Linked DNA regions of Homo sapiens: all the other regions are linked to region 7. The links are contacts of gene promoters, found by promoter capture Hi-C in blood cells and fetal thymus (Javierre and others, 2016). All regions are on one chromosome and are shown on one strand. The core of a region is centred on a gene start or on the middle of the fragment in contact, and the rest is flanking DNA. Distances in the headings are between cores, read along the strand shown.

The links. The method cuts DNA at HindIII sites, captures the fragments that hold promoters and counts their contacts. A CHiCAGO score of 5 or more calls a contact.
Region 1: a fragment that was not itself captured here is called in contact with the fragment with the promoter of SUV39H2 in region 7 in 11 of 17 cell types (naive B cells, M2 macrophages, monocytes and 8 more); the score reaches 9.3 in naive B cells.
Region 2: a contact is called between a fragment that was not itself captured here and the fragment with the promoter of SUV39H2 in region 7, in 16 of 17 cell types (neutrophils, monocytes, M2 macrophages and 13 more). The highest score is 27.9, in neutrophils.
Region 3: a fragment that was not itself captured here is called in contact with the fragment with the promoter of SUV39H2 in region 7 in 1 of 17 cell types (fetal thymus); the score reaches 6.0 in fetal thymus.
Region 4: a fragment that was not itself captured here is called in contact with the fragment with the promoter of SUV39H2 in region 7 in 17 of 17 cell types (megakaryocytes, monocytes, naive B cells and 14 more); the score reaches 22.9 in megakaryocytes.
Region 5: a contact is called between a fragment that was not itself captured here and the fragment with the promoter of SUV39H2 in region 7, in 7 of 17 cell types (monocytes, neutrophils, megakaryocytes and 4 more). The highest score is 12.6, in monocytes.
Region 6: a contact is called between a fragment that was not itself captured here and the fragment with the promoter of SUV39H2 in region 7, in 11 of 17 cell types (neutrophils, naive B cells, monocytes and 8 more). The highest score is 12.2, in neutrophils.

The regions. Positions count from the first base shown.
Region 1 is chr10:14,484,989-14,487,986 of GRCh38, reverse strand. It overlaps LOC124902380 (a long non-coding RNA gene), which reads right to left and starts at 717. Exons shown (of 2, transcript XR_007062062.1): 1 at 591-717; 2 at 1-281. The HindIII fragment of the contact is 499 bases long and covers 1,394-1,892 here.
Region 2 is chr10:14,523,542-14,526,624 of GRCh38, reverse strand. The region is part of intron 3 of FAM107B (family with sequence similarity 107 member B); the gene reads left to right. Among named protein-coding and RNA genes, the nearest start is that of MIR1265, 89 kb to the right of the region's middle. The HindIII fragment of the contact is 9,482 bases long and covers 1-3,083 here.
Region 3 is chr10:15,136,420-15,139,256 of GRCh38, reverse strand. The region is part of intron 2 of NMT2 (N-myristoyltransferase 2); the gene reads left to right. It overlaps LOC107984210 (a long non-coding RNA gene), which reads right to left. Exons shown (of 2, transcript XR_007062067.1): 1 at 1-2,837. Among named protein-coding and RNA genes, the nearest start is that of NMT2, 31 kb to the left of the region's middle. The HindIII fragment of the contact is 1,584 bases long and covers 495-2,078 here.
Region 4 is chr10:14,543,418-14,546,117 of GRCh38, reverse strand. All of the region lies in intron 2 of FAM107B (family with sequence similarity 107 member B), which reads left to right. Among named protein-coding and RNA genes, the nearest start is that of MIR1265, 110 kb to the right of the region's middle. The HindIII fragment of the contact is 2,236 bases long and covers 152-2,387 here.
Region 5 is chr10:14,613,228-14,615,927 of GRCh38, reverse strand. The region is part of intron 2 of FAM107B (family with sequence similarity 107 member B); the gene reads left to right. Among named protein-coding and RNA genes, the nearest start is that of FAM107B, 160 kb to the left of the region's middle. The HindIII fragment of the contact is 5,880 bases long and covers 1-2,700 here.
Region 6 is chr10:14,594,380-14,597,143 of GRCh38, reverse strand. All of the region lies in intron 2 of FAM107B (family with sequence similarity 107 member B), which reads left to right. Among named protein-coding and RNA genes, the nearest start is that of MIR1265, 160 kb to the right of the region's middle. RefSeq lists enhancers at 614-1,114, 1,115-1,615. The HindIII fragment of the contact is 2,303 bases long and covers 151-2,453 here.
Region 7 is chr10:14,877,165-14,880,115 of GRCh38, reverse strand. SUV39H2 (SUV39H2 histone lysine methyltransferase) reads right to left here and starts at 1,250. Exons shown (of 6, transcript NM_001193424.2): 1 at 1,197-1,250. The coding sequence starts at 1,227. SUV39H2-DT (SUV39H2 divergent transcript) reads left to right here and starts at 1,457. Exons shown (of 1, transcript NR_186426.1): 1 at 1,457-2,951. RefSeq lists a silencer at 777-1,516. The HindIII fragment of the contact is 2,774 bases long and covers 1-2,465 here.

The sequences.
Region 1 (2,998 bases), core at 394-2,893, 390 kb after region 7:
TAGACAAAGTGAGTACATTACTATATTTTGTTGATTCTTAGAAGCATGATGTTTCACATTAGCAACTTTGAAACTGGGGTGCATTCTATAATCGCTGGCATCTTATCATTGCTGCTGGCCGGGCAGCTGCCTTTAAGGAATTGCCATTTCCCCCGAAGTTGCAAACCTGAGAAAAGCTGCTCATAGTGTTCCTGCTTCAGCTCAGCTGGGCTCTTTGCCAGTACTATGCGTAAAGGATTTATTTTGCCATTCAAATGTCTTCAAAAAGATTCCACGATGATCTGAAATTGAAACAAAAGGTTATTGTGTACATGGAGAGGCATGGAAACCCAAAAGCAAGTATTCATCTTTGGGAGAGTGACCACAATTCCGTGTTTCCTTATAAACAACCAGTCATGTTTTGACACTGTAAGAAAAGAAGATACCCGCAAGAGGGTGAAGCTTTGTCATGTCTTACTACTGAGCTATGTTTGCAAAAGGACTGCCTATCACATGCAAAGGTTTTCAAGGCATGAGAAGTCTCTTAAAATCTCCAAATTAGTAAAAAAAAAAAAAATTGGTGAGGTGTTGAGGTAAGAGGCAGGACTCACCTCCAGAGGTGGAGCTCGGACACCAGATCAGATTGAGGACTAGCTGAAACAGGGCCAGGATGAAAGCAGCATTCAATCAGACCCACCCACCAGTGTACCAGGTCAATTTACTGTTGCCATGGCAACACTCGGGAGGTACTGCCTCTTTCCACGGCACCCAACCATCCAAAAGTTACTACCCCTCCCGTGCATAAACCACTCCTTAATCTGCATGCAGCTAAACGTGTGTATAAATATGGCTGCAAAATTGCCCTGCCCTGAGCTGCTACTCTCTGCCTACTGGGTAGCCCTGCTCTGCGGGGGCAGTCACAGAGTTGTAACGCTAAGACTGTTTTCTTTTACTTTTGGCTTGCCCTTGAATTCTTTCCTGGGCAAAGCCAAGAAGCCTTGTGGGCTAAGCTCCATGATGGGGCTCAGCTGCCCCGCATCAGTGTGACCTAATGTCAAGGCCATGACTCAGTTAGCCGCCCTTCTCTTTTGTTGACATAAAACGTAATAGTGTGCGTCAACATTCATGTCTTACATGAAATATGATGTGTTGTGTGTTAGAAATATTATGGAGGAGGTGAAACGGGGAGCACTGTGGGGAGGAGGATGCAATTTTAAGTGATGTGGCCGTGGTAGTGCTCACTGAGAAGGTGATGTTTGAGCGAAGACCTAGAGGGGTCCAGGGAATGAGCTATGTTTCCTTCTAGAATAGAATATTTCGGGAAAAACAACAGCAACAACCAACCAAACAAAGAAATTCCACAAACAAATTATGTAAGGGTATACTTTAGCCAAATACAAAATAATTTAAAGCTTTTATGGGGAGGGAAGCTCCATGAAGACAGAGGTTTTGTCAGTTTGTAACTATAGATTTTCACGCAGGGCACGCACCAGGCACTCAGTCGATGTTTGTGGAATAAACGAATAAACTTTTAAAAGGGAAATAAATGCTACATTATATAGTGAGCAATAAAACCATTAACACATTTAAATGTAGTTGATAGTATAGTTTGTGAGGTTTAACACATTTTCAAAATATTTGAAAGAATAAGCAGTATATGTCATTAGGGAATTGTAAATTCAAAAAATGAAATACTATTACGCACCTATTGAAATGGTCAGAATCCAAAACACTAACACCAAATGCTGGCGAAGATTTGGAACAACAGCAATTCTCACTCATTCTGGAGGAATGCAAAAATGGCACAACCACTTAGGAAGACAGTTTGGCAGTTTCTTACAAAATGAAACATACTCTTACTATGTGATCCAGCGTTCACGCTCCTTGGTATTTACCCAAAGGAATTGAAAGCTTATGTCCACACAAAAACCAATGCACAGATGTTTCTGGCAACTTTCTTCATAATTGACAAAATTTGCAAGCAACCAGGATGTTCTTCCATAGATGAATGGATAAACCGTGGTATGTCCAGACGATGGGATATTATTCAGTGATGAAAAGAAAAGGTGCTATCAAGCCAACAAAGGCATGGTGGAACCTCAAATGTATATTACTAAGTGAAAAAGCCAATCTGAAAAGGCTACATACATACTGTGTGATTCCATCTATACGACATTCAGGAAAAGGCAAAACTATAGAAGATAGTAAATAGATCAGCGGTTGCCAGGGGTTGGGGAAAAAGAAGGATAAATAGGTGGAACATAGACGATTTGGGGGCAGCGAAACTGTTTTGTAAGATGCTATAAGGGTGGATACATGTCATGATATATTTGTCAAAAGTCATAGAATGTACAACATCAAGAGTGATCCCTAATGTAACCTATGGACTTTGGATGATAATGATGTATTAACGTAGGTTCATTGAGGATAACAAATGTACCATTTTGGTGCAGGATGTTGATGATGAAGAAAGCTGTGTATATGTGGGGATGGGGGGGTATATGGGAACTTTCTCTGCTTTCTGCTCAAGTTTACTGTGTTCCTAAAACTGCTAAAAAGCATAAAGTCTATTAGAAGATAAAAAGGGTATACGGTGCAAAATAAAAGAAGCCCTATAATAATAATTATAATCTTGGAACTAAATTCAAGGAGCCATCAAAAGGAGGGGGCTACAAAAGGTTGCAAACACCTCATCTTGTTAGACTTGTTGAAAGGGGGATTATACGTATTATTTAATTATTAATGATGCAAAAATATTTTGTTGAATTAAGTTAGCTAAAAATGTAGTAAAATTCTAGTAAAATAGAAATAGGATGTAGAACTTCAAAATGAATATGGAAAAGAACAATGAAAAATGTAATGAACCCCATATATGTTAGGAAAGGAAAAGAAAAACACGAAGAAAATACAAATAGAAAACATAAATGGAGTTGGCACCATTCAAGCTACCAGGACAAAGACAGATTCTCCTACTGAATGACAGGGCAGTTCTGGGTCTGCTGAGGGAGCAGGAGAAGGC
Region 2 (3,083 bases), core at 490-2,989, 350 kb after region 7:
AACATGGAAAAAGATAGGGGCAGTTCTAGAGATAAAGGATACAAGTATTTGTGTTCCAATCCATGCAGGTAAAAATGACTAAACCAGAAATGTAAATGAGGCAGGCCAAACCAAAGATTACAAGATTAAAGAACAAGGGCTGAAATTCAGGCCCAGCGCGGCGGCTCACGCCTGTAATTCCAGCACTCTGGGAGGCCGAGGCAGGCAGATCACCTGAGGTCAGGAGTTTGAGAGCAGCCTGGCCAACATGGCGCAACCCCATCTCTACTAAAAATACAAAAAAATTAGCTGGGCGTGGTGGCACGCGCCTGTAGTCCCAGCTACTTGGGAGGCTGAGGCAGGAGAATAGCTTGAACCCAGGAAGCGGAGGTTGCAGTGAGCCGAGGTCATGCCACTGCACTCCAGCATGGGCAATAGAGCGAGACTCTGTCCCCCCGGAAAAAAAGAACAAGGGCTAAATTCAAATCAAATTTTCCCTGTACCCTAAGAAAAATAATTAGGCCGGGAGATGTTTGACTAAGTGAGTAGGCATTGTTCTGTGACGGTCTGAGCCCCAGACCTTTCCTCTGGATGAATGCTGTCCCAGGTAATGAAATGACTTCACTTATTAATATATAGGTACACAGAGTTCAGGTAGATGTGGAATGAATGGGGACTCGCCCCGTCTGCCCTTGAATGTATTTAGTGGTTTATGTGAAATGTACCTTTCAAAGTTGTCTGTATGTTTCATACTCTGGGGGTGGGAATATAAATCATTGCAGCCTTTTTGTAGGGCACTTTGGCAGTACTCATCAAAATATGCGATGTGCAGATGCTTAGCCAGCAACTCCGCTTCTATGAATCTAGCCAACAGAAATACTTGTAGAAGTGTGCAGCTATAAATGTCCACAGAGGCTCAGAGCCTCATTGTTTTTAATAGTGAACAGTTGGAAACCAAATAGATGTCTGTCAGTAGGGATGTGGCAGAATTGTGGCATGTTTATATGGGTATAGAAAGTATGGAGGAACATAGACCCAACTGTTGGTAAGAGTTATCTCTGGATGCAGGAATAGGTAGGGGTTGATGGGTACAGGGTCTCTACTTTGCATAATTTTGGGGCCACTGTTCACATAGAACATTTGCGATGGAGTGGTGCTCCTCGATTCGTTTAATGGAGAGGGTTTGGATGTGCTTTTGCTTTTTATTTAACACATGGGTATATTACTTTTCTTTTTCTGCAAAGAGCACTTATTAATTTTATAGTTTTTTAAATTGGCTTTGCCCGCTTCAGTAGTCACAGGTAGCTACCTGACCGAGAAGCCGACTTGGGAATTACTGTTACTCGTGGGTGATACTGTCATAAAGGGGTTGAAAGTACTTGTTAGCTGTATATGTCAGAATTGATTAAAGAGAACCAACTATTCTTGTGCAAGGGATGGTATTGTAGTTAATTATGACATTTGGAGAAACTAATTTCTGTCTGTCGACACTATCTCTGTTCCATTTAGACTTAGAGACTTACATGGGCAATGCTTGACTTTTTGCATTCAGCACAGAAAGTTAAGTAATCCACTGTGGTAAAATATTAACTAAATTTATATGACTTCTTGACTGCTGTAAGTAGAGAATATTTATCATATAAGCACCATTTTCCTGAATTTTTTGTTACTACATATTTTATCTTACTGTCACTATTGTGTAAAATCTTTGAAAGGAAAATGAATACTGTGTAATAGTTAAACCCATTCATAGGTTGCAATAGAGTGTCAGCCAAATGTGTCATACATCAAATCTTCAGCAGCTTTTGCATAATCCAGGAGAATTGAATAATAGTTGAAGTTAATTTTGCCAGTGAAATGTAGGGAAAGAAAAATGTTTGAAATTTAAATTATTCAGATAGCTAAATTCTTAATCCTAAAATTTAAACCCCTTAATTCTGTCTGTAGTGTTATATCAAGACTTTTTGATAGTCATGAAACTGAGTAAAACTTTATTCAGATTACTTAAAAACAGCTTTTCCTGTGGTTAATAACACCTTTATTTTGAACAGAGTACTCTTAAGCAACTTATATTGTGCTGATTAAAGATTTAATCTGTGCATATTTTTTATCCTGTTGTTTATTTAGTTTTGATAACTGTGAAATAAACCATAATTAAATCACAAAAGTCACCTGCCTCTTTTGTTTCCCTGGAAATTTGGCCAAATTTTTTTTAACGGAAAGTTCTGCTAATGAAAATTGGGAAATTGGAGACATATATTATTTTGACTGTGTGTCCTCTGTCATTAAAGATGGACTATACTAGCTGGGTGTGGTTGCTGATGCCTATAATCCCACCACTTTGGGAGGCCAAGGCAGGTAGACGGCTTGAGCTCAGGAGTTCGAGACCAGCCTGGCCAACATGGTGAAACCCCGTCTCTACTAAAAATACAAAAAATTATCCGGTCGTGGTTGCGGGCACCTGTAATCCCAGCTCCTCGGGAGGCTGAGGGAGGAGAATCGCTTGAACCTGGGAGGAGGAAGTTGCAGTGAGCCGAGATTGTGCCATTGCACTCCATCCTGGGCAACAAGAGGAAAACTGTATCTCAAAAACGAAAAAAAAAAAAAAAAATAGAGCTGGGCGTGGTGGCATGTGCCTGTGGTCCCAGCTACTCAGGAGGCTGAGGTGGGAGGATCGCTGGGGCCCAGGAGGCAGAGGTTTCAGTGAGCTGAGATCATGCCGCTGCACTCCAGCCCGGGCAACAGAGAGAGCCTGTCTCAGAAAAAAAAAAAAAAAAAGATGGAATATACCGATTTTTACTCTAAACAACAACTTTGAATTAAGTTTTTGTGATTTTTAAAAACATCTAGATAGGAGAGATGCCAGAATTTTTAGAAATTCTAGATGAATGAGGAAGTATGCAATTGAGGATTGGTTTACAGATGTGATTGTGTGGACTTTAAAGGGATCAAGGTGAGTGTGCTGTTGAATTTCTCTGGCCGGAGCACATATATTGGAAATTGTTATTTAACAGTTGCTCAGATGACTCCTAGTTGGTTAGTCACGGTAGTTGATAGGAGTCGTTTAGAGAACAACCCTGTCCCTTGTCTACAGATTAGCAGTC
Region 3 (2,837 bases), core at 37-2,536, 260 kb before region 7:
GATAGAGGGGAGTTTATTAAGTATTAATTCACATGATCATAAGGTCCCACAATAGGCCATCTGCAGTCTGAGGAGCAAGGAGAGCCAGTCTGAGTTCCAAAACTGAAGAACTTGGAGCCTGATGTTCGAGGGCAGGAAGCATCCAGTATGGGAGAAAGATGGAGGCTGGGAGGCTAGGCCAGTCTCTCTTTTCACATTTTTCTGCCTGCTTGTATCCTAGCTGCACTGGCAGCTGATTAGATTGTGCCCACCCAGATTAAGGGTGGGTCTGCATTTCCCAGCCCACTGACTCAAACGTTAATCTCCTTTGGCAACACCCTCACAGACACACCCAGGACCAATACTTTGTATCCTTCAATCCAATCAAGTTGACACTCAGTAGTAACCATCACAGTAGGGAATTTCTTTTCTTAATTTGGAGGAAGTCAGTATTGTCTTAAGATGGGCTTTTTTCTGCTGCATTTTTAAAATCTGGGGCTCTTTCCCTTTAAGCTTATGCCAACTCTAGATAGCACTGTAAATTACAGTGGACTGCATTGCAGAATATTCTGGTCTACATACAAGAACCAAAATAAAAATGATATTTGGATTCTTATAAACTTCTTAGTGTTATAAAACTTGGACATTTTTTCCAAGGTACTATTAAATTTGGAAAACAATGGGTAAAGAGTATAGTTGCTGGTTAGTATGCCACAGAAAGCATGTGTGGAAGAAAAAGAGAATATACCTGCCTCTTATATAGGAGTGGAATCGTGGGAAGTTAATGTCGGGTAGATATTCATCTCACCTTGCCTGATGCACACTCATTCTTCCCAGGTAGTGCTACTATGGAAGGTGAATGGACAGGCATGAGAAATGATCATAGCTGAGTTTCCCTTACTGCTTTGTCCCTGTGGATTTGGAAATTGTGTTTATTTGAATCTACTTTCAGAAAGCATTTAAATAGAGCCGTATGTGGTTGTTCATGCCTGTAATCACCACATTTTGGGAGGCCAAGGCGGGCAGATCACTTGATGTCAGGAGTTCAAGACCAGGCTGGCCGACATGGTGAAACCCTGTCTCTACTAAAAATACAAAAATTAGCCAGGCGTGGTGGCACAAGCCTGTAATCCCAGCTACTCAGGAAACTGAGGCAGGAGAATCACTTGAACCCAGGAGGCGGAGGTCACAGTGAGCCATGATCATGCCATTGCATTCCAGCCTGGGCGACAGAGTGAGACTCTGCCTCAAAATGAAAAAAAAAAAAAAAAAAGAAGAAGAAGAAGAAAGAAAGCATTTAAATAGTGAACATTGGGATATCAATGTTTCGCAAAGGGACATTTCATGTAGAGGTGTGCTGGTCAACCCATGAGCTAATTAGGTAGGGAATAAATCACTCTGAAGTCTTCTTCATGGAGTTGGTCATTTTGGTCATTGGGTCATGTGGAACAAAGATGCTGATTCATGTCTGTTGCAAAATAGTTTGAGTTTGATATATTACTGTTAGAAGATTTAACTCAGAAACCAGGAAAGAAATCAAGGAACAAAAAATTAAATCAAGAAAGAAAAAGTACCATGACAAATTCATTATAGTCATTGTAGTTCTATTTTTATAAGACTGGGCTCTACTTTGCCATTTTAAGCTAAACTGATGCACAGTTAAGCATTATTAGTTGAAATATGCTGTGATCTCAATTCCTATTTAAATTGTAAGGTCTTCTAATAGATGGTGTTGTTGGAGTTCAGATACACATGAATTTCATTTTGCTAGAAATTTGCTCCTTTTAATGTTGGGGACTTAAAAGACACCCAAGGAAAAGAAGTCATCCAAAGATATAATAATGAGAACCGGAAAAGTATTTTGTTAAATTTGTATGTGTCATTAAGATAGGACCTTTATGATTTTGATGTTAAACAAATGTAAGATAAACAGCTTACAAAAACTGTGGCCATCTTGGATTGTGCTGTGAGACTTCCAAGCAGAGACAAAAAGACTTTCACCTGCCTCCAGCTGGACTTCAGAACTTCGTTTCCTTAGGGTTCTTGACAGTGTTTGTATGAAACAAACCCTGTTCTGTGCTGTGTACGATGAGTAAGCTTCCCAAGTTAAAATTATTGCTCCACACCACAGATTTCAGATTCCAAGTGGAACAGAAGTCCAAAGTTGCTGTTTATAAACTTCTAAGGGTCGATTGTACCTTTCAATGGTGTCCACCCTGTGTTGACATACAGCAAAACCGAAGGGCTCTTGAAACTTCTAACCACTTTCTGAATTACAGCGAAGAATATTCTTTGCATGGTATCAAAGTTCTACAATGTCTCAGTAATTTTACATATTGAAAAAAGTCATTGATTTCCATATTCAGTCCTCTGCGCTGTCTTCTCATTTCAAGTAGTCTCATGTTCCATGTATTATTACGTTATTTGAGGAATTAAAAAAAAAAAAAAAAGAACTGGGGAATCTCCAAGAGCTGGCGGGAATATTGGCTTTGAGAAAGGAACCTTAGAATTCAAACGTAATGTTTTACCTAAAAAGGAGTCCAGTTTCCAACACTTGGGCTGGGAACGACAGGCTATGGTTGCCCAGGATCTGAAGTACAGAGGAAATTGCTTGTCCTTCTGGTGGGAGAGTTTGTCTCTAGAGGATCAGGAGGATCAGGAGGGTCAGGAGAAGGGCAGGGTGTGGCCGGGAGGAAGGGGCATGGTTAGAGATTTCTTTTCTTGATCATTTTCATCCCAGTTCAGCACTGAGTTCAGATTTCCCTTCCTTCCTTCCTTCCTTCCATCTGTCCTTCCTTCCTCCTTTCCTCCCTCTCTCCCTCCCTCCTCCCCCTGTCCCTCTCCTTCCTCCTTCCTCC
Region 4 (2,700 bases), core at 20-2,519, 330 kb after region 7:
TGTCATTAAGTCTGTTTGAAGATAGTCTCTTCTTTTGAAAGTATTAGTTTGTTTGGCCAGTTGGGCCAGGTCATAAATATTACGGAATTATTAGTCAGCTCTTGAAGACAGGAATGTTTGAGGGCTTTGAAAGCTAGCCCAGCAGGAAGCTTTTCGTGGTCTGTGTATTTTCCTTCCTCTCAGGAATGATTAGGCCGAAATCAACCATCTTCTCAGTCCATCCTCTTTGTAGTTTCCTGAGATGAATGACCGAGGTGTTTTCTCCTCAGAAAATAACATAGGAGAAAAATTCCAAGGGAGGTCTCTTTATTCAGGAACTTGCAATTTAGGAATTAAGTGTGATAACTTTATTTTACCAATTTTAATTTTGTGACTATAACATAATATAAATAAGGATTCTGTTACATGCAAATTTTGAAATCATGCAAAAACCAAAAAAGGAAAAGAAGTCAATCAAAACTTGTATAATTTCAAAGATGGTGGCCAGGTGGTTTGGAAGCTGTGCATGGGATTGCCACATGGCCTCTCCCCTCTAGCAGGCAACAGGTGCCTTGTGTGTTTAGTCAGTATCTGCTGCATGTCATTGCTGATGGCATTCAAGTTTTTGCTTATGTGTGCTGGTATTTAATGTTCACTTAGATCTAAATATCTTTTTTTAGCCTTCAAAGATGTCAACCAGGTATTCATCAAGAGATATATTAATGGGGATGTTAGTGATAGAGCCCAGGACACCCCCAGCCCCCAGATCAATAGCTTTGTAACAGAAGCGCTAAACCACTATGAAGGTGATCAGACAACAGGGGGATGCATCCTGCCATTAATTTAGCAGAAAGAGCACACGTCCAAATAGGAGAGTTAAAATAGAGAGGTGCTGTAGCAAAGTGGCTCAGAGCATGGACTCTGGAGCTAGCTGCATGATGCTGCTAGCTGCCATTTAATTAGCCTTGTAGATTTAGGCAAGTCACCTAGTCTCGCTGGGCCTTAATTTCCCTATCTGTATGATGGAATAAATTTAATGTCTACTGCAAAGGTTATGTGACACTTAGCAAACATGATAAAACACAGGTTGCCGGGCCCACCCCCCAGAGACTGACTCACTGCATCTCCGATATTTGCATTTAACTAATTCCATGATGGTGCCGATGCCTCGGACCCTGGGATGACACTTTGAGGATCACCATGCTGTGCATTTGTACACACAGACACACACGTAGGCATTTGTTTTCCAAAGTAAAGGGCATACTGTTTGGAGCCTAATGTTTTTCTCCTATTTAGTGCCTTGTGAATATTTTCCCTTTCATTATTTATTCTAATAATGGATGATTTTAAGCTGCACTGTATTCCATTATTAGATATTTAAATGGCTTCCATTTTTTCCGCTATCATAGACCATGCCGGAATAAATATCATTCTGTGTACACTTGTCTACATCTCTGTTGATGTCTTTAGGGTAAATTCCTAAAAGTGGAATTACTGCGTTCAAGGGTGTTTCACGGTAAGGCCTTTTGCTACACATTGCCAACAAATTCTTCAGAGAGTAGCAGAAATTTGTCTTCTTACAAGTAGTCTATGAGAGTAGATGCTGATTTTCTAAATGTAAGGGAATAAGAAAAACTTCATGATTAACTTTTTTCACGTGTATTTGGGCTTTGGTGGGAGTAGGCAAGAAGAATATCCGTGGATTTATAGAGTAAGCAAAAGTATGTCAGGAAAAACTAGGAAGAATAGGGCTGAACTGTGGCTTGATTTCAGGAGAGTTTCTGGGATTCAGACTTGAATTAACTGAATGATGCTGTAATGTATAAGTGTTGGTATAGGTGATTTTATGCAAAGAAGAATAAACATTGGCTTACTTTTATTTATCGTATACGGTATGGGTGACTACTGCTGCTAGTTCAAGGGTCTTGATTTTTTAAAAATGTGTTTCTTGACTGTGGTAGCTGGGAGCCCCAGGATACAGACTTTTGGTTAAATAACATCTGCTCCACTCTGCCTTCCCGTGTGGGCCTCTCTAACCCTGGGCCAAGCAGTTGAGTCTCTCCTCGGGGTGCCTGGAGTGAGGGTGGATACAGCTTGGGTAATTCAGCATCTGTACCTAAAAACTTACTCAATGTAGGCTTCATGTAAAGAAGTCAGTGGTTCTTGGGAACAGGGGTGAGTGAATGGAGGCGAAAGGTGGGGCCCTCCACAGGTCAGTCAGGCCCTCAGGGTGGGACAAGAGCTGTAGGGCTCTTGGTTATAAACCTGTGTGGTGGAGACCAGCAGGTGAGCCAAACTCTTCTTTATTATCAGAACATTTCACTAATAAGGGATCTCAAGGGTCATCTGGCACAGCCTTCTCTTTTTGCAGATAAGGAAGCTAAATAATTTATTATTTCAGTTAAGCTTCACCATATGAGAGTTTTTGGTTTTTTTTTTTTTTTTTTAAAGTTTTTAGGATCAGATAGTGAACCTTGGAACAGAATTGGCTGCTTTTTGTTTCTTTTTTCTGGAAGTGCTGAACTTTAGAGAATTGTGGCTGCATGGTAGACAGGCAAAACAGGAAGGACACAGTGCAGCTGAGAGCGAGGGTGGCCTGTGGTCTCTCGTTTGGCCTGGAGAACGGGCTGATTTCAACTCCTCCTGCACTGCTCCTGAGTCACGGGTCCTACACCACCGTGCCTCTCTCCCGAGCTCAGGAGGCCGAGCTCAGGACTGCAT
Region 5 (2,700 bases), core at 98-2,597, 260 kb after region 7:
ATCTAGCTCTGATTATGAAGTACTTATTGTGCTAGGCACTAAAAAAGATTAAAACATTGATTCCTGCCTGCCTTCAAAGTTGACAAGGTAATTAGGGAACACATACAAAAAATTATTGCTTAGGACAAATAAGAAGTTTGTTAGCTTCTCGAGTATGGAATGGTGCTTTTTATTTAACTTACTCTGTTCCCAAATCTAGCTCACTCCTTTCCACACAGAGATACTTAATAAGTAATTTATAAATGCTCAGTGCTATTAAAAAATTAAATAAGCACTTGGTCTAGGTTATAAAAGTTAAGGAAGGCCTTGTGGCAGACCTAAGATTTGAACAGAAACTTAATGCATGGGCAAAACTTGGATCTGCTAACAGAGGGGAGGAAGAGCATTTCTGCCAGAGGGAACATCATGAATGAAGATTGGGAGGTGGAAGTGGGTGTATTTATGCCTCACAGGAAACTTGGCTAGAGTAGAGTTCACTTCAGCAAGGCCTAGGCTTAATGTCCAGAAGACCAAAAGATATCCATTAATTCTCTCCCTACAAGATCGTTCCTATCAGCTTATAGAAAATTATTTGTTTCTGCCTTTTTTTTTGTTTTTTTGAGATGGTGTCTCACTTTGTCACCCAGGCTGGAGTGCAGTGGCATGATCTCAGCTCACTGCAACCTTCACCTCCCAGGTTCAAGTGGTCCTCCTGCCTCAGCCTCCCAAGTAGCTGGGACTACAGGCACATGCCACCATGCCCAGCTAATTTTTGTATTTTTAGTAGAGATGAGTTTTCACTATATTGGACAGGCTGGTCTCGAACTCCTGACCTCAAGTGATCCACCCACCTCGGCCTCCCAAAGTGCTAGGATTACAGATGTGAACCACCACACCCAGCAGTTTCTGCCATTTTTAAAAACAAGCAAAACAGTGAAACAAAACCTTTCTTGGCCCTGGATTCCCCTCCGTCTACTACCCTTGACAAAGCTGCCTATACTAGCTGCCTCCAATTCCTCTTTTCCCATTATGTCTTGAAGCCACTCCAGCCAGGTCTTCACCCCTGCTGCTCCCCGAGTGATTCTTGGGTTGGTAAACAGTCCCTGTCTCGTGTAACCTGGTAGCAGCGTTTCACAAAGGTGCCCATCACATCCTCTCCTGCTTGAAACCCTGGTCTCACTTGGTTTCCAGGTTTCATTCATAGCTCCCTTGGGTCCCATTCACTTTCACTGGCCATTCCTTCTCTAAGTCTCTTTTTTTTTTTTTTTTTTTGAGACAGAGTCTCGCTTGCTGTGTCACCCAGGCTGGAGTGCAATGGCACGATCTTGGTTCACTGCAACCTCTGCCTCCTGGGTTCAAGCAATTCTCCTGTCTCAGTCTCCCGAGTAGCTGGGATTACAGGCATGCGCCACCATGCCTGGCTAATTTTTGTATTTTTAGTAGAGACTGGGTTTCACCATGTTGGTCAGGCTGATCTTGAACCCCTAACCTCAGGTGATCCACCTCCCTCAGCCTCCCAAAGTGCTGGGATTACAGGCGTGAGACACTGCACCTGACTCCTTCTCTGTCTCTTTTGCCAGTTCCCAGCAGCTCCCCGACCACTAAATGCCAGAGCGCCCTGGGCACAGGCCTCAGTTTCTCCCTTGGTGGTGAATGCAGGCTCCTGGCTTTCAGTATCACACACACACTGATGGCTTCTGATCGTGCTCAGAGCCTCTAAGAGCCCACAGGACCTCATGTGATCTGTGAACCTCCCAGGACAACGACTGTTTAGGGGGAAAGAAAGAAGCAAGTTCAAATTGTATTTATTTATTTATTGAGATGGAGTCTCACTCTGACGCCCAGGCTGGAATGCAGTGGCGCGATCTTGGCTCACTGCAACCTCTGCCTCCCACGTTCAAGCGATTCTTCTGTATCAGCCTCCCGAGTAGCTGGGACTACAGGCGCCCGCCAACACTCCTGACTAATTTTTGTATTTTTAGTAGAGATAGGGTTTCACCATGTTGCCCAGGCTGGTCTCGAACTGCTGACCTCAAGTGATCTGCCCTCCTCGGCCTCCCAAAGTGCTTGGATTACAGGTGTGAGCCACTGCCCCCAGCTGACTTTGAATTTTAATAAAAGAAAAGCCAGTCGTCCAGCTTTGAGGGAAAAGCGTTGTATAATTTGTTTTACTAGATTAGCCTAGCTGATGTGGCCTGTTTGTGAGATGACTTGAGTCATAGTGTATGCTTGTGTGGGGCAGACGGAAGGAAAGCAGTATTAGTGGATATGCACTCTGAGGATTGTGTGTCTGTGGGCCAGGCAGAATTTGATAGAGATGGAGAGAAAAATGTAGATTTGAGAGAAATGACAGAGAAAGCAATGTCTTGGTTTTGTCGCCAAAGTAGATGTAGGGCGTAAGTGAGGAAATTAAGATTATCTTGAAGTTTGTGCAGTGAAAAAACTGTCAGGTTAGTAAGGAGGCATGGGGTAAGTAAGGAAGTTCTGAGTAAGAAGAGAAGTTCTGCTTTTCATTAGTCACATGGATAAACTGTCTTTTAAAAGATTATGAATCTCTCCAAATCAAGCTAAGAATGGTCATGAGCAAATCATTCTTAAAATCAATTTCCGTACCACTAGGTTTCTATTGTTCTATGATAACATTTCAATTGCCAATTCAATTCATTGAAAGTTTATGGGCTCGGTGAGGTGGCTCACACCTGTAATCCTAGCACTTTGGGA
Region 6 (2,764 bases), core at 53-2,552, 280 kb after region 7:
CCCTTGTAACTTGATTCTATTTGAAACACATAAAACTGGTCAGGGTTCTTTTTCATTTTTTCTTTTTTTAGTGGATGTGCAGGGTAAAGTAGTGTATCGGAAAGAGAGAGGCCTAGACTTGAAAGATTTTCAGACTTTTAAGCCTAAGCTTGCCATGAATGAGTATATGACTTTTGAGCATGTCATTATTTCTGTTTCCCAGCGTCGTCTTCTATAAAATGGAAATAGTCACACTCACCTACTTCTTAGAGTTGTCTTAGGGTGAGATAGAAGCCTGCATTCTTTATGCCTGCTTGTCCTTCTAGGGAATGCTCTGGAATTGGAACAGCATGTGGGCCACCCCTTAGGATAGGTGACTCTTAGAAGGTGAGAGGAGGCAGGGCGTCGGGTGTGCAAGAGAATCAGCTACATCATCTTTCAGGTTCCTGCTGCGGTGGGTGAATTCTGTTATTCTGTGCCCATGGAATGGGAGGTGTCATAGAAGTCATAGACATCAGACGTAGAGTTTGACCTGAGTGAGTCAGTTGCCCTCTTGGGGTTTGCATATTCTTACCTGTGAAATGCAGTAATAATACTGGTAATATTATTATTATCATCAATGAACAGTTTTTAATCATCTTATATGTGACCAGGCATGGTGTCAAGTTCTTTATGACATTTCTTCATTCATTCAGCAACTATTTAATGAATGCTGCCATATGCCAGTCATCGTTCCAGGCTCTGGGGATCAGTGGGATCACGGGCTAGCATGGTGGCTGGGACAGACAGACTCCCTGCCTGCATGGAGTTTATATGCTAGTGCATGACAGAAGGTAAACAGATACATGGATGAGGTGATTCCCATGGTCAGTGCTGTAAAGACAACTAAGTCAGTTCAGGGGGCTGGAGTCTGGTGGGAGAGCAGGTTGTGTTTTTATTAGGATGAGGCTCCTCCGAGGAGGAGAATTTGAGATCTGAGTGAGGCAAGGGGATGAGCCTCGCAGAAACAAGTGCAAATATCAGCCCAGTGGCTGGCAGGAGCTTGCTATGGAAGGAATGGCCAGAGGGCCTGTGTGGGAGGAGCCAGCGGCCAGGGCAGGAAGAGAGCTGTGCAGTGGGGTCCAAGGAGGTCTGGCAGGCCACGGTGAGGACGTGGCTCATGAGGAAGCCACAGGAGAGTTCTGAGCAGGGCGTGCAGGAGATGGACCTTGTATTTTGTCAGTGTGTCCCTGTGGTTGTGGAGGGCCACGGGGACTGCAGAGGGCCAGGAATAGAAGCAGGGAGACCAGCCGGGGTGCCGCTGGTGAGATGGATTGGAGTTGATACAAGAGAGAAAGGCATTGTGGGTGACACCTGCTCTTTTGGCCTCAGCCTTTGGGTGAAAGATGGTGCCATTGATTGATATGGGGAGACTGGTGGAGGATGAGCTTTATGATGTTCACATCAGCCTCTGGACTTAGTGTTGTTTTATTCCCATTTTACAGATGTGGAGACCAAGGGGGAGAGAAGTAAAAAGTTTGCCCTAGGACCTGGCCAACAAGGTGAAACCTGTCTCTACTAAAATTATAAAAATTAGCCAGGCGTGGTGGTGCACGCCTGTGGTCCCAGCTACTTGGGAGGCTGATGCAGGAGAATCGCTCGAACTCAGGAGGCGGAGGTTGCAGTGAGCTGAGCTCGAACCACTGTACTCCAGCCTGGGTGACAGAGCAAGACTCCCTCTCAAAAAAAAAAAAAAAAAAAAAGGTTGCCCTAGGAAGAAGCTGAGCCAGAATTAGGATCCAAGTCTGATCTATGCCCAAGTCTTGCGTTTTCAATCATTTTTGCTGGACTCTGTACATATCTGCATTTACTCTCATTGCGAGATTGATACGAAAGTACCTGCAGAAATGCTTGGGAGATGTATCTGTTTTGTTGTTAGCATAGCTTTATTGCGGTATAATTTATATTCCATACAATTCACCCATTATATGTACACAGTTGTGTAATTTTTAGTAACTTTATAAGGGTGGGCAGCCTCCCCCCAGTCCAGTTTTTAGACTTTGCAGTCAGTTCCCCCTCCCACCCCCAGTCTTAGTTAATCAGTGATCTTTTCTCTTGTCTGTAGCGTTTTGCCTTTGTACAGGTAGAATCACAGTGTGGCCTCTCTCTTGGGTCTGGTTTTGTTCATGTAGCATAGTGTTTCTGAAGTCCATCCATTGTTGCCTAAGACATCTGCTTTTAAGGAACCTTCTTAGAGTTTGTCATCTATCATAAGAGATACCCTGTGCTGATGAGAAAAAGGTCCACTGAGATGTGCCTTAAGATGAGAATAAAAATAACAGTGGCCAGCATTTCCCGAGCATTTGTTATATGCCAGGCACAGTTATGGCCATTATTTTCTGTGATTTCTAGAAATCAGTTGTAGAGGCACCAACCAATGCAGTTCCATGAGAGGTGCCATGATCAGTGTTTTTCAACAAGGGAGGTTAAAAGCTTGCTCGGGGTTTTAAGAGCTGGGATCAGACTTGGGCCTTCTTCTCATGGAGCTGTGTCTTTACTGCTTCTTCACACGCCCTTCACCATGTGTTTGAGGCTTGTGTCTTCGTAGCCTCACAAAGAGATTGGGATTCCAGTTGGAGAATGCATTTGCCAGTTTTGTTTTTTTTTGTTTTTTTTTTTTTTTTGGCAGGGTCTTGCTCTGTCATGGAGGCTGGAGTGCAGCAGTGCCACCATAGCTCACTGCAGCCTTGAACTCCTGGGCTCAAGGGATCTTCCCACCTCAGCTTCCTGAGTAGCTAGGACTGCA
Region 7 (2,951 bases), core at 1-2,500:
AGTCCCTTCCATCTACAAAAACTAGAGAACGTTTTGTGTTAAGCTGACCTCATTAAGGGAATCACGTATAAAGGAGGTTCCTCTTATCTACTCAAGGTGTGTTTGTGTGCTTTTCCTAAACATTTTTATCTAGTTGAGGATTCAAAACACAACCCGCAAAGGAAATGCTCTTTGAAAATTAAAAAAAAAAAAAAAGTGAACATGAAAAACTGCAAACACGTGGTTAAAAAAAGAAAGACAATCTCTCGACAGTCTCCAGTAATGCAGAAAAAGATTTCACTGACAAAATTAAATAGTTCATGACCACCACAAACACCTTCCGCTGGTTCACAGTAACCCCTGACATTCTCCAAGGAGAAAAATTCAGGGATAATGAGGTCATAATCCCAGCGGAGAGGAGACGAGCTTGAAAACACCTTTACATTCCGGAACGCACGGAAAAGTTCCAGGCTCTCAAAGCGTGCGCGACACCAACACCCCCCGACGCCCACACCCACGCGCGCTCGGTGCCCAGTTCCCCGGTGCCCAATTCCCCAGCGTCCACAGAAATAACACCAAGCTCCCGGTGGGTGAAAGAGTTACCGTAAGCCAGAGGCTGCAACCTCAAATACCCACTTTCTGGGCGATTCTCCAACGAGGCACTCAACCTCCTAGCGTGTCCGCCTTGGGGGGGATTCCTCGCTTATCCCCTTTCTTAGCACACAGGCGCCCCGATTTACTCTCCCCCTCTGATATTAAGGTCATGTTCACGCCGGCGGGCGTCGCTTCCCGCCTCCCACTTCAAAGGCCCGGGCGCATGCCGCACGCCGCGCTCGAACCACCACAAAGGAGCCAGTCGCAGCCGTGCCCCCCGGACCTCCAACCGGGGACTGCCGGGGAGCGGCCTCGAAGCCCGAGGCCGCCACGGGAGACGCGGAGGGGGCCGGGCCGAGCGGGCGGAGAGGCCACGCTCCACTTCCGAAGTGCCCCAGGCTCGGACAGTGCCCACCTCCGCGGCGGGAGCCGGCCGGGCAGGGAGGCGGGTCAGCGGCCTGGGGGAGGATAGGCGTCCGCAGCGTGCGTCCCGGAGTTGGGGTCGCGGCGGGCGGGGAACCGCCACGTCGCCATCTGGCTGGCCCGCGGGACGGCCCCGCCGCCCGGGCCTTGGGAGCTTGCCTGGGAACAGGGAAGGCGAGGGGGCCGCGCTCCAGCCTCACCTCCTCGCGCCTCGGCCCCGACCGCCGCCATCTTGTAGAGCTTTCATTCAAACTGGCGCGGTCTGACGGGATAGCTCAGCTGGCCCGACGCCCCGCCCCTGGCCGGCCCGCGCGGGACTTGGGGGCCGGGGCTTGTTGGGGGACGGAACCCGCACGGCGTCCTGACGTCACTGGCGGCCGACCCCCCGCCGCGGCGGCCAGCGCGCCTGCGCCCCAAAGCTAGGCCCGGCCCCAAGCGCGAGGAGCGGGGCGGGGCGAGCGCGCGTGCTCCCGGATCCTCGGCAGTGTCCGGCGCCCCCTTCCCTTCGCCAGGCCCGTTTGGCGCCTTCACTCGGGAAGACGTCGGCCAGGACTTTGCGCTTTGGAGACGTCTTACTTCGGCAGCACTCGCACACTGCGAGATCCGACACGGGCAGCGGGGACCTAGGGAGCCGGGGACGCTGCCTGTCGGGTACGGTTCCGCAGCTACCGCAGCCCCGTGGGCCATGGTTAGTCTCCCCCCGACACCGCTCCCTCTAGAGCTCCGGGCTTCGGAAGCGGCTGCACGTGGGCATGGCTGGAGAGGTTCCGCTGGCTTGGGGCAGTCGCCGGGATTCCGACTGGTTGGTGTGGGGTGTGGCCTGTGCTATCCAGCTCCCAGCTGATCCTAATGTGCGGCACAGCGGAAACCACCGGTCCACATCAGTGCTTCTCACTTAAAGGGGCTTACGAATCGTCGGGGGTGGGGGAGCTGGACTTGGAATTTTTTAAGAGATGAGGTCTCACTCTGTCACCCAGGCTGGAGTGCAGTGGCGCGATTACGGCTCACTGCAGACTAGACCTCCTGGGCTCAACTTTAATGTAAATTGGGATTGGGTAGGTCTGTAAGGGGACCCGAGCTCCCCTCCCATGTTGTTGCCAAGCTCCTGAGCTCGGCCTGGTGGCGGGTGGGGGCCGGGAGGAGAAGGACACGTTAGTAAGGAAGCTGCAGGACGACTCCAGGGGCCTCCCACCTGGTCTCCACCCCCCTCCCCCACCCATTCTTGACGCTGCATCCATGATTGTTCTAAACAACCTAAAGCAGAAATCTTAGAGCAAATAACGAAAACTGGCAGAAGGCCATTTGATATCTCCTTAAAAAATTCATGTAAAAAATTACATAAACGTTTCAAAGCAGTATGTATAAATTTGAAATACTGGAAATGAACGCAGACCATTAAAGGAATAGTTAATTATTTGATTCCATTATGAAATACTGTCTAGCCGTCTTAAAAAGGTGTTCATGAAGCTTTTAGTATTCAGCAAAACCAAAACAAATCCCCCTGAAATATAGTTTTAACTATGGAAGAAAAAAATGTATAGGAAAATAACGAAATAGCCTTTTCGGAGTGATTTTCTTTTTAACTTCTCGTTTTTAAATATTTAATCATTTTCTACGATGGGAAACACCACTTCCTCACACACACTCATGCTCCCAGACTTTATTTAGCTACAAACGGCATCATAATACAAATACTGTTCTGCAGTCCGTGTGTGTTTCAATGCAACTGCATTTCTCAGACATGTTTCTAAGATTTGAGTCCTTAGTAAATTTTGTATTCCATATCTCATTACCTTGAGATAAGGAATAAAAGGCCCTGTCCAACCCTGTCACCTGGAAGAGCATCCAGGCCCTTTAAGGCTTAGTCTATCTAGGATTATGCCTTCAGACTTGGATACAGCCTCCCGTCCTAACCGGCCCCTGTATTCATTACCTCTCCTGTATGTTTTCAGAGC